Regions from separate parts of the Homo sapiens genome. Here all the other regions are linked to region 5. Evidence: promoter capture Hi-C in 16 types of primary human blood cells and fetal thymus (Javierre and others, 2016). All regions are on one chromosome and are shown on one strand. Each heading gives the region's core, a stretch centred on a gene start or on the middle of the fragment in contact. The rest is flanking DNA. Distances are from core to core; before and after follow the strand shown.

The links. Contacts are between HindIII fragments. The CHiCAGO score rates a contact against its expected background, and 5 or more counts as called.
Region 1: a fragment that was not itself captured here is called in contact with the fragment with the promoter of NDE1 in region 5 in 2 of 17 cell types (megakaryocytes and monocytes); the score reaches 6.3 in megakaryocytes.
Region 2: a contact is called between a fragment that was not itself captured here and the fragment with the promoter of NDE1 in region 5, in 2 of 17 cell types (fetal thymus and total CD4 T cells). The highest score is 6.7, in fetal thymus.
Region 3: a fragment that was not itself captured here is called in contact with the fragment with the promoter of NDE1 in region 5 in 2 of 17 cell types (erythroblasts and total B cells); the score reaches 6.3 in erythroblasts.
Region 4: a fragment that was not itself captured here is called in contact with the fragment with the promoter of NDE1 in region 5 in 1 of 17 cell types (fetal thymus); the score reaches 5.9 in fetal thymus.
Region 6: a contact is called between a fragment that was not itself captured here and the fragment with the promoter of NDE1 in region 5, in 1 of 17 cell types (erythroblasts). The highest score is 7.5, in erythroblasts.
Region 7: a contact is called between a fragment that was not itself captured here and the fragment with the promoter of NDE1 in region 5, in 6 of 17 cell types (erythroblasts, M2 macrophages, neutrophils and 3 more). The highest score is 9.5, in erythroblasts.

The regions. Positions count from the first base shown.
Region 1 is chr16:16,185,273-16,189,236 of GRCh38, reverse strand. ABCC6 (ATP binding cassette subfamily C member 6) reads left to right here. Exons shown (of 31, transcript NM_001171.6): 13 at 263-406; 14 at 2,026-2,113. Among named protein-coding and RNA genes, the nearest start is that of ABCC6, 36 kb to the left of the region's middle. RefSeq lists a silencer at 2,664-2,837. The HindIII fragment of the contact is 493 bases long and covers 1,895-2,387 here.
Region 2 is chr16:15,046,752-15,051,030 of GRCh38, reverse strand. It overlaps NTAN1 (N-terminal asparagine amidase), which reads left to right. Exons shown (of 10, transcript NM_173474.4): 2 at 2,932-3,034; 3 at 3,111-3,176; 4 at 3,481-3,589. It also overlaps a transcript of PDXDC1 not described here. Among named protein-coding and RNA genes, the nearest start is that of NTAN1, 7.2 kb to the left of the region's middle. The HindIII fragment of the contact is 4,295 bases long and covers 861-4,279 here.
Region 3 is chr16:14,830,129-14,834,044 of GRCh38, reverse strand. It overlaps NOMO1 (NODAL modulator 1), which reads right to left and starts at 324. Exons shown (of 31, transcript NM_014287.4): 1 at 29-324. The coding sequence starts at 193. The HindIII fragment of the contact is 2,025 bases long and covers 629-2,653 here.
Region 4 is chr16:15,062,330-15,066,081 of GRCh38, reverse strand. RRN3 (RNA polymerase I transcription factor RRN3) reads left to right here. Exons shown (of 18, transcript NM_018427.5): 16 at 711-863; 17 at 2,799-2,886. It also overlaps a transcript of PDXDC1 not described here. Among named protein-coding and RNA genes, the nearest start is that of NTAN1, 8.1 kb to the right of the region's middle. RefSeq lists a silencer at 3,713-3,752. The HindIII fragment of the contact is 4,781 bases long and covers 1-3,752 here.
Region 5 is chr16:15,647,933-15,651,775 of GRCh38, reverse strand. It overlaps NDE1 (nudE neurodevelopment protein 1), which reads right to left and starts at 1,531. Exons shown (of 9, transcript NM_017668.3): 1 at 1,482-1,531. RefSeq lists enhancers at 829-1,328, 1,329-1,830. The HindIII fragment of the contact is 10,572 bases long and covers 1-3,843 here.
Region 6 is chr16:16,161,853-16,165,548 of GRCh38, reverse strand. It overlaps ABCC6 (ATP binding cassette subfamily C member 6), which reads left to right. Exons shown (of 31, transcript NM_001171.6): 24 at 2,357-2,556. Among named protein-coding and RNA genes, the nearest start is that of ABCC6, 60 kb to the left of the region's middle. The HindIII fragment of the contact is 1,170 bases long and covers 1,603-2,772 here.
Region 7 is chr16:14,957,124-14,961,266 of GRCh38, reverse strand. No RefSeq gene overlaps it. Among named protein-coding and RNA genes, the nearest start is that of PDXDC1, 16 kb to the left of the region's middle. The HindIII fragment of the contact is 1,982 bases long and covers 1,903-3,884 here.

The DNA of each region.
Region 1 (3,964 bases), core at 892-3,391, 540 kb before region 5:
GGTTCTAGTGATGCCTAGAGCCGTGGGGCTGCGCACTCATCACCATTAGCAATGCGCTGTGTCTTTAGAGAGAGCCTTATGTAGCTTATGACTGCGGAGAGGACATGTGTTAGCAGGACTGGGAGTGGGATCTACGGAGGGAAGCACATGCGGACATGGCGGGTGGGCCACATGGACCGTGCAGGCACCACAGCTTGCCCAGGCTGCCCTATCCATGCTTGCGTGTCTCACTGTTGCCCCACGTGTCCCCCCCACCCCCCAGGTCGCACTGGTGGTGTTTGCTGTCCACACTCTGGTGGCCGAGAATGCTATGAATGCAGAGAAAGCCTTTGTGACTCTCACAGTTCTCAACATCCTCAACAAGGCCCAGGCTTTCCTGCCCTTCTCCATCCACTCCCTCGTCCAGGTGAGGTGGGTGCAAGGGCTGGAGCCATCCTGGGAGAGTGCGTGGGCTACACCTGGCTCCAGCTTCCCTACCCCTGCCATTTGCAGAGGAGAGGGAAGACAGAGTGGGAGGGAGAGGGATGGTGTGGAGCTGGAAAAGAGGCGGGTAGGGGCAAGAACAGAGGCGGGCAGAGAGTACAGCAAATACATCTGGAAGGGGTCAGCCTTTGGAGGGCAATGTGCAGACCTTTCCACACACACCTCAGAACATGCATACTTGTCCATCTGCCCAGCAATTCCACATACAAGCAATCATGTCAGTTCCCTTTTTTATACAAAGCGATTTTGTTTCTCTTCCTTTGCTATCTCTAGTCCTTTCAGCATGGTGAAAACAAGAAACGGCGGCATACCTGAGCCATCTCCATGTTTTTTATTTTTTATTTTTATTTATTTATTTATTTGAGATGGAGTCTCACTCTGTCACCCAGGCTGGAGTGCAGTGGTGCAATCTCGGCTCACTGCAAGATCTACCTCGCAGATTCAAGTGATTCTCCTGCCCCAGCCTGCCAAGTAGCTGGGACCACAGGCATGCACAACCATGCCCAGCTAATTTTTTTTTTTTTTTTTGTATTTTTAGTAGAGATGAGATTTCACCATGTTGGCCAGGCAGGTCTTGAACCGCTGACCTCAGGTGATCTGCCCACCTTGGCCTCCCAAAGTGCTGATTACAGACATGAGCCACTGCACCCAGTCTTATTTATTTATTTATTGTGTTTTTAGTAGAGACAGGGTTTCACCATGTTGGCCAGGCCAGGCTGGTCTTGAACCCCCGACCTCATGTAATAAGCCCGCCTCAGCCTCCCAAAGTGCTAGGATTACAGGCATGAGCCACCGCGCCTGGCCGCCTTATTTATTTATTTATTTATTTATTTATTTATTTATTTAATTTATTTATTGAGACAGTGTCTCACTCTGTCACCCAGGCTGGAGTGCAGTGGCACGATCTCAGCTCACTGCATGCTCAAACTCCTGGACTCAAGTGATGCTTCTACCTCCCAGCCTCCTGAGTAGCTGGGACTACAGGCATGGGCCACCACATCCGGCTAATTTTTTTAATTTTTTGTAGAAACAAAGAGTCTTGCTATGTTCCCCAGGTCTCCAACTCCTGGCCTCAAGTGATCCTCCTGCACTTGGCTTCCCAAAGTGCTGGGATTACCGGCATGAGCCGCTGCACCTGGCCTAATCTCTATTTTAACGACTGGTCTCTTTCTTCCCCAAAGATGGGTTTGTGACTGGGAGAGAGCGCCCCCAGGTGGACAACATTTGAAATTGTTCCACACAATGGCTTGATAACCTTATTGGAAAAGCCACCATCCTCTTCCCAGATCTTGTCTGCAGAATGGCAGCTGGCTTGCTTCGGTGTCACTGATTTGTAGGATCGCAGAGGTGGGAGATCACCACCATCAAGGTCACCACTCGGGTTGCATCGTTTCCCATGAACTAGAAAGCTTTGTCCTCACGCCTCCTATGCACAGAGCTTGGTAGACAGGAAGCTGTTGCCACACATCTTGAGACACCGACACCCAAAACCTGAGTTCTTTGCTCTTCTTGCTGGGTGACCTGCGGCTTCGGTTTTCCTAGGCCCGGGTGTCCTTTGACCGTCTGGTCACCTTCCTCTGCCTGGAAGAAGTTGACCCTGGTGTCGTAGACTCAAGTTCCTCTGGAAGCGGTGAGTGCTGAGTCTGGCAGGAGGGGTGTGGGAGGGATGGGGGATGTGGGGGCCACCCCAGCCCATAATGGCAAGCCAGCATCAGTACTGGGGGGAGATGGGGGCTGCGGGCAATGGATGACACGTGCAGATCACGCCATCTGCGTGTCACTTGGAAACTGGCACCGTGCTGCTCTTCTTTCTGCTAGCCATTCAGCGACCACTCACTGAGCGCCCACTTTGTACCATCCTGGGTGTACAACAGGGAACACTCTAACACAGTGGTCCCCAAGCTTTTTGGCACCAGGGACTGGTTTTGTGGAAGACAGTTTTCCCACGGACCGGGGAGAGGCGCGTGGTTTTGGGATGATTCAAACACATTCCATTTATTGTGCCCTTTATTATTATTACATTGTACTATATAATGAAATAATTATACAACTCACCATAACGTAGAACCAGTGGGAGCCCTGAGCTTGCTTTCCGTCAACTAGATGGCCCCAAAGCGGGTGATGGGAGACAGAGATCATCAGGCATTAGATTCTTATAAGGAACACGCAACCCAGATTCCTCACATGCACAGTTCACAAGTGTTCGTGCTCCTTTGAGAATCTATTGCTGCTGCTGATTTGGCAGGAGGTGGAGCTCAGGCGGTGATGGGAGTGATGGGGAGTGGCTATAAACACAGATGACACTCTGCTCACCTGCCCTGCGCTCACCTCCTGCTGTATGGCCCAGTTCCTAAGAGGCTGCAGACTGGTACCAGTCTGTGGCCTGGGGGTTGAGGACTCCTGCTCTAACAGACCAGGTCCTTGTCCTCATGCAGAAAGTCCCAGGTAATAAGCATGACAGCATTTTGATCAAGCTGGAAAATAGCAGCATTTCAAGCACCATTGCACGATGAGACTTACCAAGCTCAAGTTACCTGGGCTTCCCCCTCCACCCCATCCTTCTTTTATGCCACGGGCCAAGACACCCTCCCCCTTGTTGCACTGAAGAACCTGGGCAAACTGTGTACCTGGAAAACACCCACATAGTGGTAAGAAGCCGAGCCTGTGGCATTCAACTGCCCAGGTCCAAATCCCAGCCCCAGCACTGACTAGCTGGGTGATCCTGACAAGTAGATCATCTCTCTGAGCTTCCGTGTTCCCATCTCCAAAATGGGCATGTTAATCGTTATAGCAGCTAATTGTGACGATGAATTTAATTGATCTGGGCTAAGCCATGAGAGCTTTGATTTTTAGAAAATCTTTCAGGCAATTCTAACTACGTCTTAAGGATCAAGAACCACTAATCTAATTACACTTGTTATCACAGTGAAATAATAATAATAATTAGTAGTAGTAGCAGTAGTATTTTTGAGACACAGTCTTACTCCGTCATCCAGGCTGGAGTGCAGTGGTGCAATCTTGGTTCACTGCAACCTCCGCCTCCTGGGTTCAAGCAATTCTCCTGCCTTAGCCTCTCAAGTAGCTGTGATTACAGGCGCCCACCACCACGCCTGGCTAATTTTTGTATTTTTTGGTAGAGGCAGGGTTTTGCCATGTTGGCCAGGCTGGTCTCAAACTCCTGACCTCAAGTGATCCTACCACCTCTGCTTCCTAAAGTGCTGGGATTACAGGCATGAGACACTGTGCCGGCCACAGTGAAATTAATAACACCCCCTTCACTCTGGGAAGGCTGGGATTTGATGATAATTTATTTCAGAAATTCACTAACTTTTTCCATAAATGACCAGATTGTGCATATTTTAGGCCTGTGGGCCACACAGTCTCTGTCACAACTGCTCAAAGCATGAAATAGAGAAATGAATGGATGTGGCCGTGTTCCAATAAAACTTTATTTATAAGAAAAGGCAGCAGGCAGGATTTG
Region 2 (4,279 bases), core at 1,759-4,258, 600 kb after region 5:
TGGAATGAGAAAATGAGAGGCTGTCACCTGTACAGGTGTTCTGAGTTTTAGAGCAGTCACACCTGTTTCTCACTGACTTCTGGAGCAAGCAAGGCTGTCTTGCCCATCTAATTTTACACTGCAGTTCATTTAATCTTTAGTTTGTTTCTTAAATTAAGGGGCTTGTCTCATTTTCATTGATACCTTGCTTCCAGTTAATGGAAGTTTATAAACAGAAGAAAACACCATGTAAGTAATCAAGCTGATCATTATGTTTATTACATCTCTTCTTTTAGTTTAATCTTAATTTTTTTTTTTTTGAGGCAGGGTCTTGGTCTGTCACCCAGGCTGGAGTGCAGTGGTGCAATCATGGCTCGCTGCAGCCTCCACCTCCTGGCTGCAAGTGATCCTCCTACCTGAGCCTCCAGAGTAGCTGGGACTACAGGCACATGCCACCACACCCAGCTAATTTTTGTAATTTTTGTAGAGACAGGATCTTCCTTGTTGCCCAGGCTGGTTTTGAACTCTTAGGCTCAAGCAGTCCTCCCTCCTCAGCCTCCCAAAGTGCTGGAATTACAGTTGGGAGCCATCACACCCAGCTGCTCTTATGTTTTATTAAGTGAGCGCTAACCTAAATTAGCACCAGTCATGCGAAATGGCAAGAAGCTGATAGAAGACTAAGACTGCAAAACTGTCTTCCTGTGTAGGCAATACATACATACGTTGTCTAGACATTTGAGGAAGATTTTGTTCATCCAGGAGTTTGTTGCAAGTAAGAAGGAAATTATGATACATTGTAGTGTTGTATCAATTTAATATTTTGAAAAAGTTTTTGTTAAATAACCACTGAATTTTTAACCACTGAATTTTTTTTACAAGCTTACTAAATAAGTGTGTACAAACACTCAGATTATTGACACTTAGTATTAACATACCTTTCGTAAATTTGCCTTATCCATTTTGTTTTTGTATTCTAACAATAACTATGTGATAGAACATTGAGAGAAGAGAGGACAACAGCAACAGGAAATCACTCATGTTTGCTTTTTTGGCACAGCCATGGTTGTACTGGTGAAATTTCCTTCCAGTATTTTTCTCTATGGGTATAAGCATTTAATCATTGTTGTATTATGGCACATTTATAGCTCTTTAAAACATTTTTTATACTTTTGTATCTTGCTTTTCAATTAGCATTTCAAAACTCTTTTTCCCATAGTTTTCATTTCTCATGACTGTGCAGTTAGTGGCTGTGACTTGGTTCTGTGCCCAATTTACTTACCTTTTCCATTGCTGCTCCCAGCTTTTTGCCATTACAAATTACACAGGGGGCTGGGCATGGTGGCTCATGCTATAATCCCAGCACCTTGGGAGGCCAAGGCAGGTGGATCACTTGAGGCCAGGAGTTTGATACCAGTGTGGCCAACATGGCGAAACCCAGTTTCTACTAAAAATACGAAAAGCTGGGCATGGTGGCGCACACCTGTAATCCCAGCTACTGGGGAGGCTGAGGCACGAGAATCGCTTGAACCTGGGAGGTGGAGATTGCAGTGAACTGAGATCACGCCACTGCACTCCAGCCTGGGCAACAGAGCGAGACTCTGTCTCAAAAAAAAAAAATAAGATAAAAGAAATAACACAGGGATGAACATATTTTGAGTTATTTCCTTAGGACAGATTTCCAGAAGTGAAATTACTAGGTTAGGGACTAAGGTAAAAAAGCGGAGGCCAGGTATGGTGGCTTATGCATGTAATCCCAGCACTGTAGGAGGCCAAGGTGGGTGGATCACTTGAGTCCAAGAGTTTGAGACCAGCCTGGGCAGCATAGGGAGGCCCCATCTCTACAAAAAGTATAAAAATCAGCCAGGTGTGGCGGTGTGTGCCTGTACTCCCAGCACTTTGGGAGGCCAGGGTGGGTGGATTGCTTGAGCCCAGGAGTTTGAGACCAGCCTGGGGAGCATAGGGAGACCCCGTCGCTACAAAAAGTATAAAACTCAGCCAGGTGTGGCGGTGTGTGCCTGTACTCCCAGCACTTTGGGAGGCCAGGGTGGGTGGATTGCTTGAGCCCAGGAGTTTGAGACCAGCCTGGGCAGCATAGGGAGGCCTCATCTCTACAAAAAGTATAAAAATCAGCCAGGTGTGGTGGTGTGTGCCTGTACTCCCAGCACTTTAGGAGGCCAGGGTGGGTGGATTGCTTGAGCCCAGGAGTTTGAGACCAGCCTGGGGAGCATAGGGAGACCCCGTCGCTACAAAAAGTATAAAACTCAGCCAGGTGTGGTGGTGCAAGCCTGTAGTCCCAGCTATTTGGGAGGCTAAGGTGGTAGGATCGCTTGAGCCTGGGAGGTGGAGGCTGCAGTGAGTTGAAATTGTACCACTATACTCCAGCTTGGGTGACAGAGTGAGAGACTGTCTCAAAAAATAAAAAAGAGGGGATGTGATTTCAGAGCCATCCATCCACTATTCCTGTGTAATCTGATTCTCTTTACAATGGTAAAATTGTTAAGAGTCTCACACTCTTTAGTAAAGAACTGTGATAGCTGGGTGTGGTGGGTCATGCCTGTAATCCCAGCACTTTGGGAGGCCAAGGCAGGAAGATTGCTTGAGCCCAGGAGTTCAAGACCAGCCTGGGCAACATAGTGAGGCCCTGTGTCTTTAAAAAACAAACAAACAAACAAAAAACTATAATAAAGGATTTTTGCATCTCATTTCATAGGTTACTATGACATCCGATTTCATAGGTTAAAAAAACCACCGCGCAGAACCGCATCGTTTTCTCTGCATTGTTCTGAATGACCGTGGCTGCTGCCTTTTTCTTTGAGCCTCTCTGTCCACTAACACACTCCCCACACACTAGCGTGCTGCCCACGCAGAGCCCACTTTGGCTCTCTCCACATCTTTAGTTTTTCCATCCTCACTAATTTACATCACTATTTTATTTTTTTTTTAATTAAACAGGAAAGAGCCAGACTTCTCAGAGGTCAGTCTGTTCAACAAGTGGGACCCCAGGGCCTTCTGTATGTTCAGCAAAGAGAGCTTGCAGTGACCTCCCCAAAGGATGGTAGGTTAGGAAGCAGTGAATTGGGCGTTATCCCAAAAGGCTATTGGATATTTTATTTTATTTCTTTTTTAAACAGGCTCCATCTCCATTCTGGGTTCTGATGATGCCACTACTTGTCACATTGTGGTCCTGAGGCACACAGGTATGATGAGAGAGGTGAAGGAAACCATTACTTAAACTGACCCAACCTTTGGGACCATTGAATTTCTCGTGTTGAGTTTCCTGGTGTCTTGTTGGAAGCGGACTCCGCTTACCTTTTTTCTGGTCTGCATGGTGTCTCCCTGGTGTCCTGGTCAGAATGGGTTGGCTGGGGAGCACAGACCTGTCCGTTTTTCCCCTACAGGATATTCAAAGATGAGGCGGTCCGGAGGGACAGGCGGAGTCTCGGCCTGCGCACTGCACTCGCATCAGGGAATAACTTGAGTCCTTTCACCCTTGTTCTTCAGGTAATGGGGCCACCTGCTTGACACATTGTGACGGAACCGACACCAAAGCTGAGGTCCCCTTGATCATGAACTCCATAAAATCCTTTTCTGACCACGCTCAATGTGGAAGGTGAGATCTACGCTGCTCTCATAGGTGAATTGAGATCTTGGAACCGTCGCATACAGGACGTGGCTGTGGAAGCTGTTAGGGGAACACAGGATGCCACCACTGCCGTGTCTGCCTCGTTCCCCTGGAACAGAACCTGGCACGACGTGGGCACTGCGTCAGCAGTGGTTGAGTGAATGAGTGGGTGCTGGGCACAGGCAAGGAGTCTGTGCTGGATTTGAGATGGAAGGCTTGACTTTGAACTTGATGTCGTCTCAGGAACGTCGAGGTTGCGATTTTCACATCGTTTTGCTCTCCCCCGGGTGTGGTAGCTCTCCATGCAGTCATTCCTCCCGCAGTTGCTTGTTAAATGCTTCCTCTCACCTACACCTTGTAGTTTCTAGGGACACAGCAGTGAAGAGTAGACAGAAAGCCCGGCCCAAGGTGTTTGTATTCCGAAGCCGAGAGACTGTACACAAGATGGGGTGTTGGGTGGTGAGGCGGGGCTGTGGAGAAAACGAGGCCAGGAAGATGTGGGGACCGCTAGGGGGCGAGGCATGTAGTTTTTTTTCTTGTTCTCTTTTTGTTGTTGAGATAGGGTCTTGCTGTGTCGCCCTGTCTGGAGCACAGTTGTGTGATCTCAGCTTACTGCAGCCTTGACTTTGTGGACTCAGGTGATTCTCCGACCTCAGCCTCCCAAGTAGCTGGGACCAC
Region 3 (3,916 bases), core at 392-2,891, 820 kb after region 5:
GGCGCCGGGCGGCGGGGCGGGCGCTCACCTCGATGAGAGAGTAGTTGATCTCCACGTCCGACTTGACGAAGCCACCGCAGCCCACCACGATGTCCTCCGAGCCGTGCGCCGGCCCCACGCCGCTCAGCAGCAGCACCACCGCGGCGGTGACCACCGCGGGCCCCAGCGGCCCCGCGCCCTGGCCCACCAGCATGGCCCGACCTCCCCCAGCTAGACCCACCGCCGGCAGCCGGGTCCCGCCCCTCACACTGCACGCCGCAGGCTCCTTCCTCCTCCTAGGCCGGCTGACAGCCCAGGCCCCGCCCCACCGCCGCCGCCAGAGCCGCCGCGCACGCGCGCTTCGACCCCACGTTCACAGCCCCAGAAGAGAGAACTAAGGCGCATGCTCGGCAAGGAAACGAGACCATCTCTGCCTTCTAGAGGCCTGGAGGACTCCGCGCGACATCTGGCAGGCGCAACGCAAGGTGCATGCCTACAGGGAGAAGCTCCAAAGATGAATTCTACTTTAGAATTCACCATCACAGCTGGAAAGGACGGGAGATTTTGTTGGTGGAATTATCTAACAACTTTCTCAAATCTTTCTGACCCATATATTTCGCAGGTAAAATATATAATCTCACAAAAAGCTTTAGGGCCGGGTGTGTGGCTCACGCCTGTAATCCCAGCACTTTGGGAGGCTGAGGTGGGTGGATCGCTTGAGCCCAGGAGTTCGAGACCAGCCTGGGCAATATGGCGAAACCCCATCTCTACACACACACGCGCACACGCACACACACGCACACACACACACACACGAAAAACACACACGAAAAACGCTTTAAGAATTTGTGTAAGCTGGTGTATTTTTCCATGATAAATGATCGATACTTTTTTAAGCAAAACGTGTTAATGTTAGCATATTAAAGAAAGTATGTAAGATTTATTTTAATCCTAGCTCTAATAACATATGCCTAGAAACAAATTTTGATGAGTTTTCTTCCCCTAAGCAAGAAGTGCATGCAGTCAGTATACTTTGAATTAGCTCTGCAAGATGAAACATGATTTGCCTAAAAACAAGCTCAAATCCAGCATATTTTGTCCCAAGAGTGAATTCATATGTACACTGAATTTAACTACCAGTCACCACATCAAAATACACACCAAAGAGGCCGGGCACAGTGGCTCACGCCTGTAATCCCAGCACTTTGGGAGGCCAAGGCTGGCAGATCATGAGGCCACGAGATCGAGACCATCCTGGCTAACACAGTGAAACCCCGTCTCTACTAAAAATATAAACACTTAGCCGGGCGTGGTGGCGGGCGCCTGTAGTACCAGCTACTCGGGAGGCTGAGGCAGGAGAATGGCGTGAACCTGGGAGGCGGAGCTTGCGGTTAGCCGAGATCGCACCACTGCACTCCAGCCTGGGCGACAGAGCAAGACTCTGTCTCAAAAAAATAAATAAATAAAATTAAAAAAACACCAAAAAATTGCTTTTCTTACCTAATATTAGGATTTCTTCCATTTTGTCTCAAAAAAAAAAAGCTAGTGCTTTATTTTGATAGGTTTTGTATTTTGTTTCCAAATGACAAAGTAAGACTGAATTTCCCGCTGCAATTTGCCATTGTGGCTAAAACTTAAGCAATAAACAACTAAGAAGCACAGGTTCAAACCATACAGTAGTCAAACTTTCATGGGGGCAAGGAGGGAATGAAGGGAATGACACATTGACCTCAGGGTCATAATCATGAGTGCATCTGATTTCAGTTTCTCGTGCTGCATTTTCACTCAAATACAGTAGACTCTCAACTATTCAGTGATAATGAGAAACCATTTAAATAATTCGTCTACTTATTGGGGTTTGTTATTTATAACCACAATTGAAATAGATGCCTTTTATGCAAATCACCAGAGGATTGAAAGCCACCAATTAGAAAGTGTAGGCCTATGGAAACCTCTCATCTTACAGAATGGGAAACTGAGGCCCAGAGAGGAAAAGGAAGTTGTCTAAGACTCTGCATGCAGCCATAGGTTTTCCCGGAGCTAGAGAGCAGGAATTGGGGCCAGAAGCCGTGGCTTACTACTGTAATATGAACATGTTGGGAGTCCGAGGTGGGCAGATCATTTGAGGTCAGGAGTTCGAGACCAAATTGGCCAACATGGCAAAACCCTGTCTCTACTAAAAATACAAAAATTAGCTAGGTGTGGTGGCGCATGCCTCTAATCCCAGCTACTCAGGAGGCTGAGGCAGGAGAATCACTTGAACCAGGGAGCCACAGGTTGCAGTGAGCTGAGGTCTTGCCACTGCACTCCAGCCTGGGCGACAGAGTGAGACTCCATCTCAAAAAAAAAAAAAAAGCAGGAAGTGGGATCCCCAAGTTTTGTTCTGGACTCACCCCAATTGATTTCTGCTGTGTTCTTCTTGACTTTCTGACTATTTCCCTCAAATTCATCTTCAAATATAGAAAGAAATGAAGCACCAGGACTGTGACAATGCCAATTCATGGGGGTGGGATTGGGGAGTGGCTTGCAGAGAGACAGGGATTTAGCTTCCCCATAATTTCCATCAGTTTCCACCAAAACCAGCTCAGATAAGCAGACATGATTTACATGGAAACAGTAGACCTGCCACACTGAGCTTCATGACAAATCCTTGGGTTCTTTCTGTCCCGAAGCTTCCAGAAGACTCAGGCAGGAGGACAGCTGAAGGGGGCAGGGGAGGGGGTGCTCCCTGGGCCCAATACTGGATTTAGAGTGATACAAAAAGATCGGGGAAAACACGCTGTGGGGTCCCTGCAGAAGGCAAGAGTAGAAGATGAGGACAGGACCCCGAGAATTAGCAAGGCAGCATGGAGAGTGCAGAGGATTTTAATTCTTCTCCCAAACTGAGCACCTGTGCTTGTCTGTCTAAAAGAGCCGAATATTTCATTCCTATCTTGAAACAAGTACTTGCTCACTGCAACAACAAAGAAATTGGAAAAGAAAACTAGGATTCCCCAAGATCACTGTGTTACCACATTTCCATCTTTTTATCGATGCATTTATGCTAGTATGACATCGAGTCATTTCTAAGAAGTGGTGGCTGGGTCTTTGACACTTTGCTTTAAGACCCAAGAGAGAGCTGGGCATGGTGGCTCACGCCTGTAATCGCAGCACTTTGGGAGGCCTAGGCAAGAGGATGGCTTGAGGCCAGGAGTTCCAAAGCAGCTTGGGCAACAAAGTGAGACAAGTCTCCACAAAAAAATTTAAAAATCAGCCAGGCTTGGTGGTGTGTGCCTGTAGTCCCAGATACTCCGGAGAGGCTGAGGTGGAAGGTTGCTTGAGCTCAGGAGGTCAAGGCTGCAGTGAGCCATGATGGCACTACTGCACTCCAGCCTGGGTGACAGAGCAAGACCCTGACTCAAAAAAAAAAAAAAAAAAAAAAGAGACGGAGAGAGAAAAAGACTCAAGAGAGGAAGGTAAATGCCTTGGCCTTCTTCTCCATGTTCCCTAATTTAGGCATATCCTTTTCTTTTTTGCTTTAAAAAAACCAAAGCCTATTTTATATTATAATCTCTTTTATTCAATCATCACTTAGCAACCACCTTTTCATATTCATATATGTCTTCAATGGCATTTTGTTTGTTTGTTCTGAGACAGAGTCTCGCTCTGTCACCCAGGCTGGAGTGCAGTGGCACAATCTTGGCTCACCGCAACCTTCGCCTCCCAGGTTCAAGCGATTCTCCTGCCTCAACCTCCTGAGAAGCTGAAACTACAGGCACGCACCAAAACACCCAGCTAATTTTTGTATTTTTAGTAGAAACGGGGTTTCACTATGTTTGCCAGGCTGGTCACAAACTCCTGACCTCAAGTGATCCGCCCTCATCAGCCTCCCAAAGTGCTGGGATTACAGGCATGAGCCACCGTGCCCAGCTGCAATGGCATTTTAAACCACTGGTTA
Region 4 (3,752 bases), core at 488-2,987, 590 kb after region 5:
AGTGACAGAAGTGAGATCTGAGTCCTCATCTTGGAGAAGCTGTCCAATAGATAATTTTTCAAGTTGCTCAATCATTTAGAGACAACTACTGGAAAAATTAAAAACATAATTGTCTTTATTTTATGTTTTCTTCTATGCATTTAACTGTTCTCACTCGGCATGCCTAGTCCTTTCTGTGCCTGTTTTTGAGGTCATGACTTAGTCAACCCCGTGTCCCTCCTTCAGTAAAGGCTTATTTCTTTTTCAGTGCTTCTTCAGCAAGTCTCTTCACCAACCACTATTTCCTCCTGAGTAACTCCTGAATCCCTTTACCACCAACCTTCTAATTCTTTTGCAAACAGTAAAAATAAAGACACCTATAGTTACGTAATCTAAGAGTTTTGCCTTGCAAACATTTATTTTTAATGAATAGTATCTATTACTCATTAAAATATAATGAATAATATCTATTACTCATTAAAATATAAGCCCAGTTTCACATTCTGAGTGATAGCCACGTTTTCTTTCTCCTTAGCAAACTTGCAAATAGAAGACCCATAGAACGGTACCCTAAAAGTGTTACTTTCTGCTTTATATTGTTATTTTTACTAGCACTTGTTATATTCAGCAATTTCTCTGTGGTAGGTACAGTTGTCACACGCAGCTCACATCTGCACCGAGTCACTCCAGCATGTTAATGCCTCTGTCTGTGTTGTTTTTTTGTTCCACAGTAAGTACCAGCTCGTCTTCTGCTACACCATCATTGAGAGGAACAATCGCCAGATGCTGCCAGTCATTAGGAGTACCGCTGGAGGAGACTCAGTGCAGATCTGCACAAACCCGCTGGACACCTTCTTCCCCTTTGATCCCTGTGTGCTGAAGAGGTAGGTACTTTTAAACATTGACGCTGGAGGAGGTGGATTTTTTTTTTTTTTTTGAGACGGAGTCTCACTCTGTCGCCCAGGCTGGAGTGCGGTGGTGTGATCTCGGCTTACCGCAAGCTCCGCCTCCCGGGTTCACACCATTCTCCTGACTCAGCCTCCCGAGTAGCTGGGACTACAGGCACCCACTGCCACGCCTGGCTAATTTTTTGTATTTTTAGTAGAGACGGGGTTTGACTGTGTTAGCCGGGATGTTCTCGATCTCCTGACCTCGTGATCCGCCCGCCTCGGCCTCCCAAAGTGCTGGGATTACAGGCGTGAGCCACCGCGCCCGGCCAGGAGGTGGATTTAAACGTGATACATGTTTGCTTTTCCCAAAATTGGGATTTAGGGCTCTTCACCAGAAGTGGCCCTTCCTCGCTGTTGATGAGCATCTCGTGGTCTCCCTGCGTATATTTCACCAGATGCAAAGTAGAGGATGCCTAGCAGGACTTGCCGAGTGGCGCAGGCACCCCAGAGTGGGTAGATCTTTGCCTCACTAGGAGCCAGACTGACATCAAGGGTTTTTTGTTTTTTGTTTTTCTTTAAACTGTTATTTAAACATGTAAGGTTAATGGGGATAATGGTGCCAGGATAGGGGAGGGTGCTGTCTTTTCTTGCTTCATAATTTTCTGCCAAGTGTCTTGTTCCTTCCTCTAGAGACCACATACCATTCTGTTGCACAGGATAAACGAAAAACAAACGATTGGCTGGGCGTAATGGCTCATGCCTGTAATCCCAGCACTTTGGGAGGCTGAGGCGGGCGGATCACTTGAAGTCAGGAGTTCAAGACCAGCCTAGCCAAGATGGTGAAACGCTGTCTTTACTAAAAATACAAAAATTAGCTGGGTGTGGTGGTGGCGCCTGTAATTCCAGCTACTCGGGAGGCTGAGGCAGGAGAATCTCTTGAACCCGGGAGGTGGAGGTTGCAGTGAGCCGAGATTGCACCAATGCACTCCAGCCTGGGCGAGAGAGTGAGACTCTGTCTCAGAAAAACAAAACAAAAAAAAAACAAAAAGCGATTTATCTAGATGAGTTGTTCTAGAAAACCACTGGGCCAGCCTTAACTTGGCACTTGTATAAGGAAGCAGGATTTTTGCTTATTATGGTTTCTAAAATAACTAGCAGCATCATGACCATCTGGGATTGTCTGGTCCCTGAAGTCTTGGTTGACTGAAACCAGATTAGTTGTTTTTCCTAGACTTACTTTTCAGCAAATTACTACAGAAATATAAAAAAGAGAGTTCCAGAATATTACGGTTTCATTTCCATTTGGATATACTGTATCTAACTGACTTGTGAGTCTTTGTAAAGTTTAGAAACAATTTCACATGAAAATGGAAAGATGAAAAACGGTAGTTCAATACTCCATCGACATGAGTGAATGAACTCTTATACAGAAAGAGCCACATTAGTTACAGCATTTACATAGAGGGTTGTTTTTTTGTTTTGTTTTTTTCTTTTTTTTTTTTTTTTTTGAGACAGAGTCTTGCTCTGTCTCCCAGGCTGGAGTGCAGTGGCGCGATCTCGGCTCGCTGCAAGCTCCGTCTCCCAGGTTCAGGCCATTCTGCCTCAGCCTCCCGAGTAGCTGGGACTACAGGTGTCCGCCACCACACCCGGCTAATTTTTTGTATTTTTAGTAGAGATGGGGTTTCACCGTGTTAGCCAGGATGGTCTCGATCTCCTGACCTCATGATCTGCCCACCTCAGCCTCCCAAAGTGCTGGGATTACAGGCGTGAGCCACTGCACCCAGCCAGGTTTTTTTTAAATGTAATTATTTAAGCTGTAGTTTTCACTTCTTGGTTTTGGGTAATAGATCTTGTGAGAAAAGATCCAAACCAATTTTGACTTCTGCCGAAGTATTTAACTTGACTTTGAAATGTGATCTTTGTTGACAGGTCAAAGAAATTCATTGATCCTATTTATCAGGTGTGGGAAGACATGAGTGCTGAAGAGCTACAGGAGTTCAAGAAACCCATGAAAAAGGTCAGTTTGTGATTGATTGAGCACACTCTCGGAATCTCCTTTCTGGTTCCAGGTCACAGTGAGATAGTAAGTGGCAAGTCGTTCGTGCGTGTAATCCCCGCACTTTAGGGGGTCAAGGCCAGAGGATTGCTGGAGACCAGCCTGGGCAACACAGTGACACCCTGTTTCTACAAAAATTTTTTTAATTAGCTGGGCGTGGTGGTGCACACCTGTAATCCCAGCTCCTCTGGAAGCTGAGGTGGGAGGTCAAGGCTGCAGTGAGCTGTAAATGCAGCATGGCACTTCATCCTGGGCAACAGAGCAAGACCCTGTTTTCTTTAAAAAAGCACACCAAAACCGTGTCTTACTCATTCTGCCTTTATAAAATTCCAGGCCCAGGTTTTGTTGTTATTTAAAGAGTCTATGGCTTTTTTGGATAAATTGCTTAAACCAGACACTTCACATACTGACATGTGAGAAGCGAAGGTTAATTACAAATTAGCTGAATGAATTTAGATCTTTGCCACTTGCGCATTCTTACCAAGTAACAATCTCCAGTTGACTCATGTTGAAATTGCCCCAGCAGTTTACATTAGTTTTATAGATCTTCATGAATGGGTGGTGAAGACGCAGGTTGCAACATACCCTCCAGGTCACATGAGGTGGAGCTGAGACAGTTACAGTTAGAGAGGAAAGTTAGAATCCAGTAATAAAGAATTTCGCTGCTCTGTTGCTTGGGAGCACATTTGTTTTCTCATTAAAAGCAGCTTCAAGATGGCTTTTTTGTTGTTGTTTTTAATAAGTAATCATTGGAAAGCCCCTTTCATCTTTTTCTTTATGTTTCATTTGTTGAGGGGCGTGTAATTCATTCACATTGTGTTAGGTAC
Region 5 (3,843 bases), core at 282-2,781:
AACACACACTAAGAGGAAAGGCTCAAAATGGGTTGTAGGCCGGCACGGTGGCTCACGCCTGTAATCCCAGCACTTTGGGAGGCCGAGGGGGCAGATCACGAGGTCAGGAAATCGAGACCATCCTGGCTAACACGGTGAAACCCCATCTCTACTAAAAATACAAAAAATTAGCCAGGCGTGGTGGCACGCACCTGTAGTCCCAGCTACTCCGGAGGCTGAGGCAGGAGAATCGCTTGAACCCGGGAAGCGGAGGTTGCAGTGAGCCAAAATCGCACCACTGCACTCCAACCTGGGCGAGAGTGAGACTCTGTCTCAAAAACAAAAACAAAAAAAAAAAAAAAAAAACGGGTTGTATACCAACGAGGTGATGGAGGCTGGGGTGGTCGGGTAACAAGAGGCTTTAGGAGTAGCTGGGATCTAATTAATCTTCAAAACACCCGACCCATGTCCTAAAATGCCATCCTATGCTAGAATACACTATAACAAAACTAAAAATGATGAACCTGCCTAGGTCGTGCTGCAAAGGCCTTTTCTTTAGAAAGTTAAAAGGGGCCTGAGGCTCAAAGTAGAAATTAAGAGGCACAACCTGGTAGTAACCACGGACAAAGCAATCAAGGAAGCTCAGGCCCTCAGGAGGCAGAAAGCCTGAGATGGCTCGGAGAAGATAAAGTCGCCTCCCCAAAAGCGGTGTCAAGGTGACAGCGGGGTTTCCCAGGACCTCAGAGACTCAGGTCCTCAGTGAGCCCAGCCATCACTCAAGCTGCGGAATAAGCATTTTCGTCCTTTACCCAATCCCTCCCCAAAGTGCTGTCAGAAGAAACCTGAACCGTCCTGCGGCAGAGACGGGAGCAAAGCGGAGAGCAGACTGCCCCAAACGTGTTCCCGGAGGGAGGGAGCAGGGTGGGTTTTTGGAAAGAGGCCTGCAGGGGCGGGACAGTGGGTGTGAGGGCAGGGGCAACGCTGCAATCGAGGGGTCTGGGGTCGCAGAGAAGCGGGTGGCAGGATGGAGGAATAGGAGAGAGAGAGAAAAGAAACGAGGGTCATCTAGGAGAGGAGTATGGGGAGGAAGGAAGAGGAGAAAGAGGATGGAGCCTGGCAGCGGGGTTTGGGGACCGGCAAGGCTTAACCACCCAGGAAGTCCCGGAAGGAGAAGAGGGCAACGGGGTGGGAGAGAGACCAACGCAGAAAGAGAAACAAAGTTGCCAAGGGCGAGGGGCCAGCGCGAGGAACGCACCGGTGGCAAGGCACTCAGTGCCTAACTTTTTAGGACGGGAGGCTCCAGGGAGGCGGGATTTTGGAGCCCAGGGACCGGGGGAGTCCAGGCGGCCGGGAAGCGACGCGCAAGCGAGGGGCGTAGGGGTCCCTGCCAGGCGGTGGCCCGGGGTCCCGGGATCCTGGGGCGGGGCAGAGGAGCTTTTCAGCCGCGGTGGAGGTCCCCGGACAGCCACCCCGACCCCAGCCCCGCGCAGCGCCTCACTTACCCGAGCAGGGGCGGCGAGGCCAACGCGGCGGCGGCGGCAGAGGCGGCTGCGAAGGGCGGTGCGGCCCCGGCCCTCCGGACCCCGCCCCCGCCCCGGAGCCTGCGGTCGGCGCCTCCCATTGGCTGCTGCTCTACGGTACCGCGTCCGCCTCGGCCAATCAGCGCAGAGCAGCGTCGTTTGGAAACTTTTTTCCCAGGCCGGGCGCGGCGCGGCCAAGCGGCGAAGGCTCCTGGCCGGAGGGGGTTTGAGAGGCGCCGGCTGCCGGGCGCTGGGCTGCGGCGGGCTGGCGGGCATTGGAGATGCTGCAGAACGCTGCCTGGACACCCGGGAAACGGGTTTGGGCTTGCGGGCCGCGCATTTCAGGAAAATACGCCGGCCTCTCCTTCACTTCGATTGCATTTTCCCATTCTTGCACTTTCTCCAAATCAGAAGGAAAGACAAAGATTCAGGCCCACTGAAGCTAGCAGTGCCCCGTGCCCTTCCTACTCCTTTACACCAAAAGTAGAATCTTCAGCATCATTATCTTCTCCAGAAGCAGGAGAACGTAGTGCACCAGAATTTGGTCATAAACTTGGCTTTGAGTCCTAGTCCTGCCCCTTACTAACTGTGTGGTCTTGGGAAAGTTGTTTAGCCTCTATGACTCCGTTTCCCCATCTATAAAACGCCATTATGGGTCTGGCGCGGTGGTCACGCCTGTAATCCCAGCACTTTGGGAGGCCAAGGCGGGTGGATCACGAGGTCAGGAGTTCAAGACCAGCCTGGCACATGGTGAAACCCCGTCTCTACTAAAGATACAAAAAATTAGCCGGATGTGGTGGCACGCACCTGTAATCCCAGCTACTCAGGAGGCTGAGGCAGGAGAATCACGGGAAACCGGGAGGTGGCGGTTGCAGTGAGCCGAGATCACACCACTGCACTCTAGCCTAGGCGACAGGGCAAGACTCCGTCTTAAAGAACAGACAAACAAACAAACGACATTATGCAGAGGACTAAATGACTTAACAGCATTTGTAAAAACGTTTAGAACAGAAATTTGAACTTAGTAAGTACAATATATGTATTTGTTAAATGATCTTGATTTTGTTTATTTATTTATTTTGAGATGAAATCTCCCTCTGTCTCCCAGGCTGGAATGCAGTGGCGTGATCTCCACTCACTGCAACCTCTGCCTTCTGAGTTCAAGCAATTCTCCTGCTTCAGCCTCCCGAGTAGCTGGGATCACAGGCCCGCATCACCACACCCGGCTAATTTTTATATTTTTAGTAGAGACGGGGTTTCACCATGTTGGCCAGGCTGCTCTCGAATCCCTGTCCTCAGGTGATCCACCCACCTCGGCCTCCCAAAGTCCTGGGATTACAGGCGTGAGCCACCACACACTGCCTGAAGATCGTGATTTTTAAATGGCTGTGTGTGCCAGGCACAATTCTCACAGCAACCCTAATTGTTCACTAACAAATTAAAATTAAAAAATAATTTTTTTCTTTTCGAGACAGAGTTTCCCTCTTGTTGCCCAGGCTGGCGTGCAATGGTGCGATCTCGGCTCACTGCAACCTCTGCCTCCCAGATTCAAGCGATTTTCTTGTCTTAGTCTCCCTAGTAGCTGGGATTACAGGCGCCCACCATTACGCCCAGCTAATTTTTTGTATTTTTAGTAGAGACACGGTTTCACTGTGTTGGCCAGGCTGGTCTCGAACTCCTGACCTCAAGCAATACACCTCAGTCTCCCAAAGTGCTGGGATTACAGGCGTGAGCCATGTAACTCAGAAGGCAGAGGTTGCGGTGAGTGGAGATCACGCCACTGCATTCCAGCCTGGGAGACAGAGGGAGACTTCATCTCAAAATAAATAAATAAATAAAATCAAGCCACCATGCTTGGCTGGAATTTCTTTTTTTCTTTATTTTCTTCTAAAACATCCTGTCATAACATGTTCATTAACAAATACCGAACATTCTGGTTAGTGGGTACAAAAATAGAGTTAGAATGAATAAGATCTAGTATTTGGGAGCACAGCAGGGTGACTACAGTCCACAACAATGTATTGTACATTTTAAAATAACTAAAGGAGTATAATTGGAGTGCTTGTAACACAAAGAAAGGATAAATGCTTGAGGTCATGGACACCCATTTACCCTGATGTGATTATGATGCATTGCATGCCTGTTATCAAAATATCTCATGTACCCCATAAATATAAACACCTACAGTGTACCCATAAAAACTAAAAATATATATATTATTATCCAGCTTTTTTTTTTTTTTGTGAGACAGAGTCTCACCCTGTGACATAGGCTGGAGTGCAGTGGCATAATCAAAGCTCACTGCATCCTGGACCTCCCAGGCTCAAGTGATCCTCCCACCTCA
Region 6 (3,696 bases), core at 938-3,437, 510 kb before region 5:
CCATATATGAGGTTTCACCCAGCTGGACATCTAGGGGCTGTTCCTAGAATTCCCAGGGACAGGGACACTACAGTCTTTCTGGTATCTCCACTAGTGTCTGTCTCTAAATGTTCACATCAAAGTTCTTTTTTTTAGAGAGACAGAATCTTGCTCTCCTGCCAAGGCTGAAGTGCAATAGGTGATCATAGCTCCCTGCAGCCTTGAACTCCTGGGTTCAGGTGATCCTCCTACCTCAGCCTCTCAAGTAGCTGGGACTACAGGCACGTGCCACCATGACTGGCTAATTTTTAAATTTATTTTTGTAGGACAAGTGTCTTCCTGTGTTGCCCAGGCTGGTCTCGAATTCCTGGCCCCAAGTGATCCTCCCACCTTGGCCTCCCAAAGTTCTGGGATTACAGGGCATGAGCCCCTGTGCCCCACGGCACAGTTAAATATTAAGGGCCAGAGCCTTTCACGCGTAATGTTTTTATCCTGCCGTAATTTCTTCCTCTCCAATTATCTGGAAGCCAAAAAGGCATTGCAAGGTCTCAAAGGCTATTATATGAAGCTAGATTCTTTCAATTGCTGGGACCAGCAACCAACTAAAATTAGCTTAACCAAAAGAATAGAATTTAATGGCTTATATTTCCTTGGGGGCATGGGCCCAGTTGTCATCAGGACACAGTGACTCTCTCCATATCTTCACTCAGTGCTTCTCAAAGTGTGACCCCAGGACCAGCAGTAGTATCACCTGGGGACTAGTTAGCAAAGTACATTCTTAGGCCCCAGCCCAGGACTACTGCCTCAGATACTATGTGGGTCGGCCCATGAATCTAGGTTTTAATTAACCCTCCAAGTAATTCTGATGTACACAAATGTTTAGGAACCACTGGCTTACCTCTGGTCTAATTTTGTACACGCTCTCTTTCCAGGGCAGGTCTTATGGCCACTAGCTATCATATCATCTCACCTTAGCAACTCAACATGCAAAAAACGTTTCTTCAGCTCAGTAGTCATATATTAATCCCAGGGAAGGTTCTGATTGGCCCTTTGTGGATCATGTGTCCATCTCTGAACTCGTCACAGTAACTGAATGGATAGTAGATTCTGATACACTAGGCTGCATCATGTGACCACCTCTCTGATCAGGTCCCATGATTGACAGCACCCCAACCCAGCCCTTTCCCACAGGAAACCAGAAGTAGAAAACATGGTAGTCAGATAAAAACCATGGCTAGGGCTAGGCATGGTGGCTCACACATCTAATCACAGCACTTTGGGAGGCTGAGGTGGGCAGATCACTTGAGGTCAGGAGTTCGAGACCAGCCTGGTCAACATGGTGAAACTCCGTCTACTAAAAATACAAAAATTTAGCCAGTGTGGTGGCGCATGCTTGTAATCCCAGCTTCTTGGGAGGATGAGGCGGGAGGATTGCTTGAGCCCGGGAGGCAGAGGTTGCAGCGAGCTGAGATTGCACCACTGCACTCCAGCCTGGGTGACAGAGAGAGACTCCATCTCAAAAAACAAACAACAAAACCCATGGCTACCACTGTCCCCGACAATTGTCCTAGGTCTTCTCTAAGTTCACTTGACTCCGAGGATGGGCTGTTTCTGTCTCAAGCTTTAGAGTCAAGCAAAGATGGGTTTAAATCCAGGCTCTATCACTTACTGTGGCACTCAGGACAGCTGCTGAATCCCCCGAGCCTTGGATGTTCTCACCACTAACTGATGAATGACGCGAATGCTCACTCTGCAATGAATGAGACACTGTGTGAAAAGCCTGGCACATACAGTTGGGTGTTCAGCAAATTCAGTTCCTCCCTGCCTGCCTGTCTGCCAGCTGCACCCAACCTGCAGCTGCAAACCAAATAACGAATATTTTCTGCACATCACCTGGCATGTAACCCTTGGGTTACATGAGTGAAACTGACTTGGCCAACTGCCTTCATTGCCCCTTACAGTTTTGTTCTCCCACTGACCAGCCGTAAATGAAGTAGTCGGCCTCAGTGCTGGGAAGTGAGACACTTAAACTAAATTGGTGGTTTCTCAACCCTGGCTGTCCCTTAGAATCATCTGGAAGGCTATTTAAACAGCACCAAAGTCAAGGTGACATTTCCAGAGATTCCGATTCAGTCATTCTGGGGTGGGGCATTAGAGGTTTTTGAAGCTCCCCAGGTGATTTTCAAAAAAACCATAGAACTCTGATTCTGCAAGGAAATGAGAACCCAGAGAGGGCAAGCAACTAGCCCAAGGTCACACAGTAAGCTGTTAACAGATCCTGGTCTGGAATCCTGTACTTGGGGCTCTCTGTGCTTCTGGAAACTACCTCTCTATGTCTGTGGCTTCTCCTCTTCCCTCTCCCATCCATCCTTCTCAGAGCCTGTATGTGGTTAGCTCATGCCAGCTGAGACGCTTGGAGTCAGCCAGCTACTCGTCTGTCTGCTCCCACATGGCTGAGACGTTCCAGGGCAGCACAGTGGTCCGGGCATTCCGAACCCAGGCCCCCTTTGTGGCTCAGAACAATGCTCGCGTAGATGAAAGCCAGAGGATCAGTTTCCCGCGACTGGTGGCTGACAGGTAGGAAGAGCCAGGGCAGAGAAGACCTTGCAATTCATCCATATCCTTAGAGGGTGAGACCTGAGGTCATATTGTATGGTAGAGAGGTCACCCAGAGAGTCAGGGACATAGTTGAGGCTAGATCCCACAGGCAGTCTATCAGTTCTCACCGTGGGCAGATGGAACATGACCGAGAGATTCTCAACAGCAGGTGGGCGGGGGGTACAGGAAGAAGCTTCTGTTGCCAGGCAACTGGATCAACCTCTTTTGCCTTGGTGATAAAGCAGCCATATAAGCATCCTCAGCCATCTTTAGGTACTAAGCAAGAACAAGAACACAAGCTTTAAGCACAAATAGACACAGGTTCAAATCCCAGCTCTGCCACTTACCAGCTGGTTGATTTCAGGCAAGTTACATAACCTCTCTGAGCCTCATTTGTCAAACTGGGATCGTGCTCATGGAGTGGATATGAGGATTAAATACAGACACTCATAGGTAAGACCTGTAACATGCTTACTGCATGCCTGGCACTGTTCTGAGCAATCTATGTAGATTAATTTATTTAATTCTGCTAACAGCTTCACCAGGAAGAAACTGTTCTATAGATGATAAATCCTAGGCACAGTGAGGTTTGGAAACTTGTCCAGGGTCTCACAGCTAATACTGGCAGAGCCAGGATTTGAATCCAAGCAGTCTGGTACCAGAGTGTGGAGAGGGTCAAGTACACACTAGGTGCTCAATACATGTGAAGTCCTTTTTCCTTTCATCTCAGGTCCCCAGCCAGCTGGGGCTGTGTATTAGTCCATCTTCACACTGCTAAAAAGAACTACCTGAGACTGAGTAATTTATAAAGAAAGGAAGGTTTAATTGACTCAGTTCCACGTGGCTGGGGAGGCCTCAGGAAACTTACAATCATGGTGGAAAGGGAAGCAAGGCACGTCTTACATGGCAGCAGGAGAGGGAGAGCATGAGGTGGGAACTGCCGCATCCTTTTACGCCATATGATCTTGTGAGAACTCACTATCTCGAGAACAATATGGGGAAAACTGCCCCCATGATCCAGTCACCTCCCACCAGATCCCTCCCTCCACATGTGGGGATTACAATTTGAGATGAGATTTGGGTGGGGACACAGAGCCAAACCATGGAGGCCATGGTTCA
Region 7 (4,143 bases), core at 1,644-4,143, 690 kb after region 5:
AGTCTGGGCAACATGGCGAAACCCTGTCTACAAAAAACACAAAAATTAGCTGGGCGTGTAGTCCCAGCTACTTTGGAGGCGGAGGTGGGAGAATCACTTGAGCCTGGGAAGCAGAGGTCGCAGTGAGCCAAGATCGTGCCACTCCACTCCAGCCTGGGCAATGGAGTGAGACTCTGTGTGAAAAAAAAAAAAGAAAAAGAAAAATTGTATGGAAAATTTGCAGAAAGCGTAGCAGCAAGAGAGCACATCCCCAAGGTGGTCCGGGCGCAGCTTGATTTTATACATTTTAGGGAAGCATGAAACATTAGTCAAATACATTTAAAGATTTACATTGGTTTGGTCTGGGTTATAGATAGATTAAAAATTTTCTGGGCTGGGCGCGGTGGCTCATGCCGGTAATCCCAGCACTTTGGGAGGCCGAGGCAGGCGGATCACAAGGTCAGGAGATCGAGACCATCCTGGCTAACACGGTGAAACCTCATCTCTACTAAAGATACAAAATATTAGTGGTGTGTGGTGGCGGGCGCCTGTAGTCCCAGCTACTCAGGAGCCTGAGGCAGGAGAGTGGCGTGAACCCAGGAGGCAGAGCATGCAGTGAGCCAAGATCGCACCACTGCACTCCAGCCTGGGCGACAGAGCGAGGTTCCGTCTCAAAAAACAAAAAAAAACAAAAAAAAAGAAAAAAAAGAAAAAAAGATTTCTGATGGGCAATTGGTTGAAAGAGTTATTATTAATAGAAAGGGATATATGGGTTACAATAAGAGGTTGCAGAGACTAAAGTTTTATCTCATAGATGAAGCATTCAGGTAGCAGGCTTCAGAGTAAATAGACTGTAAATTTCAGAGTGAATAGATTGTAAATGTTTCTTTTCTTTTTTTTCTCTTTTTTTGAGATGTAGTCTCACTCTGTCGCCCAGGCTGGAATGCAGTGACACGATCTCAGATCACCGCAATCTCCACCTCCCGGGCTCAAGCAGTTCTCATGCTCAGCCTCCCAAGTAGCTGGGATTACAGGCACATGCCACCACGCCTGGCTAATTTTTTGTATTTTTAGTAGAGATGGGGTTTCACCATGTTGGCCAGGCTGGTATCAAACTCCTGGCCTCAAGTAATCTACCCCCGTCAGCCTCCCAAAGTGCTGGGATTGTGCCACTGCACTCCAGCCTGGGTGACAGAGCGAGACTCCAACTCAAAAAAAAAAGGATAGAAAAGAAAATCAGGAAGGAGGGAAGATTACATATCATTTCCTTGCCAGCCTCTCTCCATTCTCATTTCAGGTGACAAAGAGGAAGGCAGTTGCTTTAGTTTCCTGCTCTGTGTCTGCACATATGAACAAGTCTCAGAGGCAGATGTTGAAGAAACTTCAGTGCTACATTTTTTGAGGGGTTGGCCTTACTGGTTGATTCATCTGCTTCATTGCAAAACAGTCCTTTTGGTCTTAAACATGTTGCGTGTTGGCCGGGCATGGTGGCTCACGCCTGTAATCCCAGCACTTTGAGAGGCCGAGGCAGGCAGATCTCCTGAGGTTAGGAGTTCTAGACCAGCCTGGCCAACATGGCGAAACCCCATCTCTACTAAAAATACGAAAAAATTTAGCCAGGCGTGGTGGCGCATGCCTGTAATCCCAGCTACTCAGGAGGCTGAGGCAAGAGAATCGCTTGAACCCGGGAGGCAAAGGTTGCAGCAAGCTGAGATCGTGCCACTGCACTCCAGCCTGGGTGACAGAGTGGGACTCCATCTCAAATTAATTAATTAATTAATTAATTAATTGTGCATCGTAGTCTTTTGTCAGTAGAAATTTCAGGATTCGCAGAGAAGTTACATTTTAGACATGGTAGCCCCCTTGGTGGTTCTTATGAAACTGGGATTCATTTAAATGAAATAATAATAGCTACAATAAGCTTTACTGTAGTCATCTTAATATATTTTTAATGTGATCCTTAGTTGTAAACAGAAGCTCAGTTCCCACATCAGTACTTATTCCCTGCTGAAAGAGCGCCGAACAAAACCCTTTTTTCATTCGAACACAGCCCTATGTTCTCCATTCATCTCCCACTGTTTGGGGACATTAACGGGACATGAACGCACTGCCTAATTATTGCTGCAGGGCTCTGAGTCACAGCTTCCACGGATGATGAAGCATCAACGTAATGAAGTAATTTATCTTAGAGCATCTCTTCTTGTTTGAAGACCATGGGAGGCCTTTAGCATTTGCTTGAGTAATAGATTGTCTTTAATTCCTGATTTTTTTTTCTATTGCTTCTAAGAAGAGATAAGTATACAGTAATGCATTGGAAATCATCGAAGCCTTCTAAGTCTTCATTTTTCCTTCTTTCATTTCCCATTAAGTAAATCCATTGAGCTGCTCCACAAAGAACACCATGGATATTAGAGGATATTTGCCTCTAGAGATTGCTACCAATCCCTTGCCTCTCTGGGTTCCTAGGAGAACTGACTTGTGCAGAAGGTGCCCAGTAAATGTCAGTTTCATCCCTTTGGCTTTGCCAGATTTAGCAAAATAATTTTTTTCTTTACGTTTTTTAAATTTTTTAATTTTTTTTTTTTTTTCTGAGACGGAATTTCGCTCTTGTTGCCCAGGCTGGAGTGATCCTCCTGCCTTGGCCTCCAGAGTAGCTGGGACTACAGGTGTGCACCACCATGCTCAGGTAATTAAAACAATTTTTTTTTTTTTTTGTAGATATGGAGGTTGTATCAGTCCGTTCTTGCATTGCTATAAAGAACTCCCTGAGACTGGGTAATTTATAAAGAAAAGAGGTTTAATTGACTCACAGTTCCACAGGCTGTGCAGGAGGCATGGCTGGGAGGCCTCAGGAAACTTTGAATCATGGCGGAAGGCAAAGGGGAAGCACGCACATCTTACATAGCTGGAGCAGGAGGAAGGGAGAGAAGGGGGAAGCGCTACATGCTTTTAAACCAACCAGATCTCATAAGAACTCACTCACTATCAGGAGAACAGCAAGGAGGCACTCTCCCCCCATGATCCAATCACCTCCCACCAGGTCCCTCCCCTAACACTGGGGATTATAATTCGGCATGAGATTTGGGCAGGGACCCAAATCCAAACCATAGCAGGGGGGTCTCACTATTTTGCCCAGACTGGTCTTGAACTCTTGGCCTGACAAGCGATCCTCCCGCCTCAGCTTACCAAAGTGCTGTGATTACAGATATGAGCCACCACATCAAGCTAACATAGGGATCGGCACTCTAGCCTGGGCGACAGAGGAGACTACGTCTCAAAACAATTAATTAATTAATTAAAATAAATAACCCCATACTTTCTGCCTCTGTGGCTTTGCCTGTTCTGGGTATTTCGTGTGAACGGACCCATGCATCTGGTGGTCCGGGCTCATTTCAAACGCTCAGCCCCCATGTCGGCCCATGGCCTCCGGATTGGATGGTGTGAGCTGGGTGTGCGCGGGGTGCTCAATCCCTCCGGAGCATCTGGAGTGGCCACGTGCAGGTGCGGGAGGCGGCGGCGGCGCAGGGGGCAGCTGGAGGCCCGGGAAGCCCGGACGTGGTGTAGGGAGCTGCCGACCATGCTGGCTTCTGATCGCGGGCTCCCAAATTCAAGACAGCCCTGGTGACATAGCAAGAGCCTGTCTCTATAAAAAATTAAAAATCAGCCAGGCATGGTGGTGCATGCCTGTGGTCCCAGCTACTCGTGAGGCTGAGGCGGGAGGATCACTTCAGCCTCGGGGTTTGAGGCTGCAGTGAGCTATGACTGTACCACTGCGTTCCAGCCTAGGTGACAGAGTAAGACTTTGTCTAAAAAAAAGAGAGAGAAAGGGAGATGGGAAGATTTATGCTGCTGACTTTGAAGATGTTGGATGGGGAGCCAAGGAGTGCAGGGAGCATCTAGAAGCTTGGAAGAGGCAAGAAAATGAACTCTCCTTTAGGACCTCCAGGAGGAATGCAGTCCTGCAGACCCATTTTAGACTCTGACACCCCAAATTCTAAGACAAGAAGTTTGTGTTCTTTTAAGCCATTAAATTCGTGGTAATTTGTTACCTCAGCCATGGAAAAATGATACAAGGGGGATATAAGTAAAAAGCAAAGAAGGAGATGTTTTGGTGAGCTGGAAGCCTGCCCAGCTGGGAGAAATCTAACAGAAGTTTACTCCGGA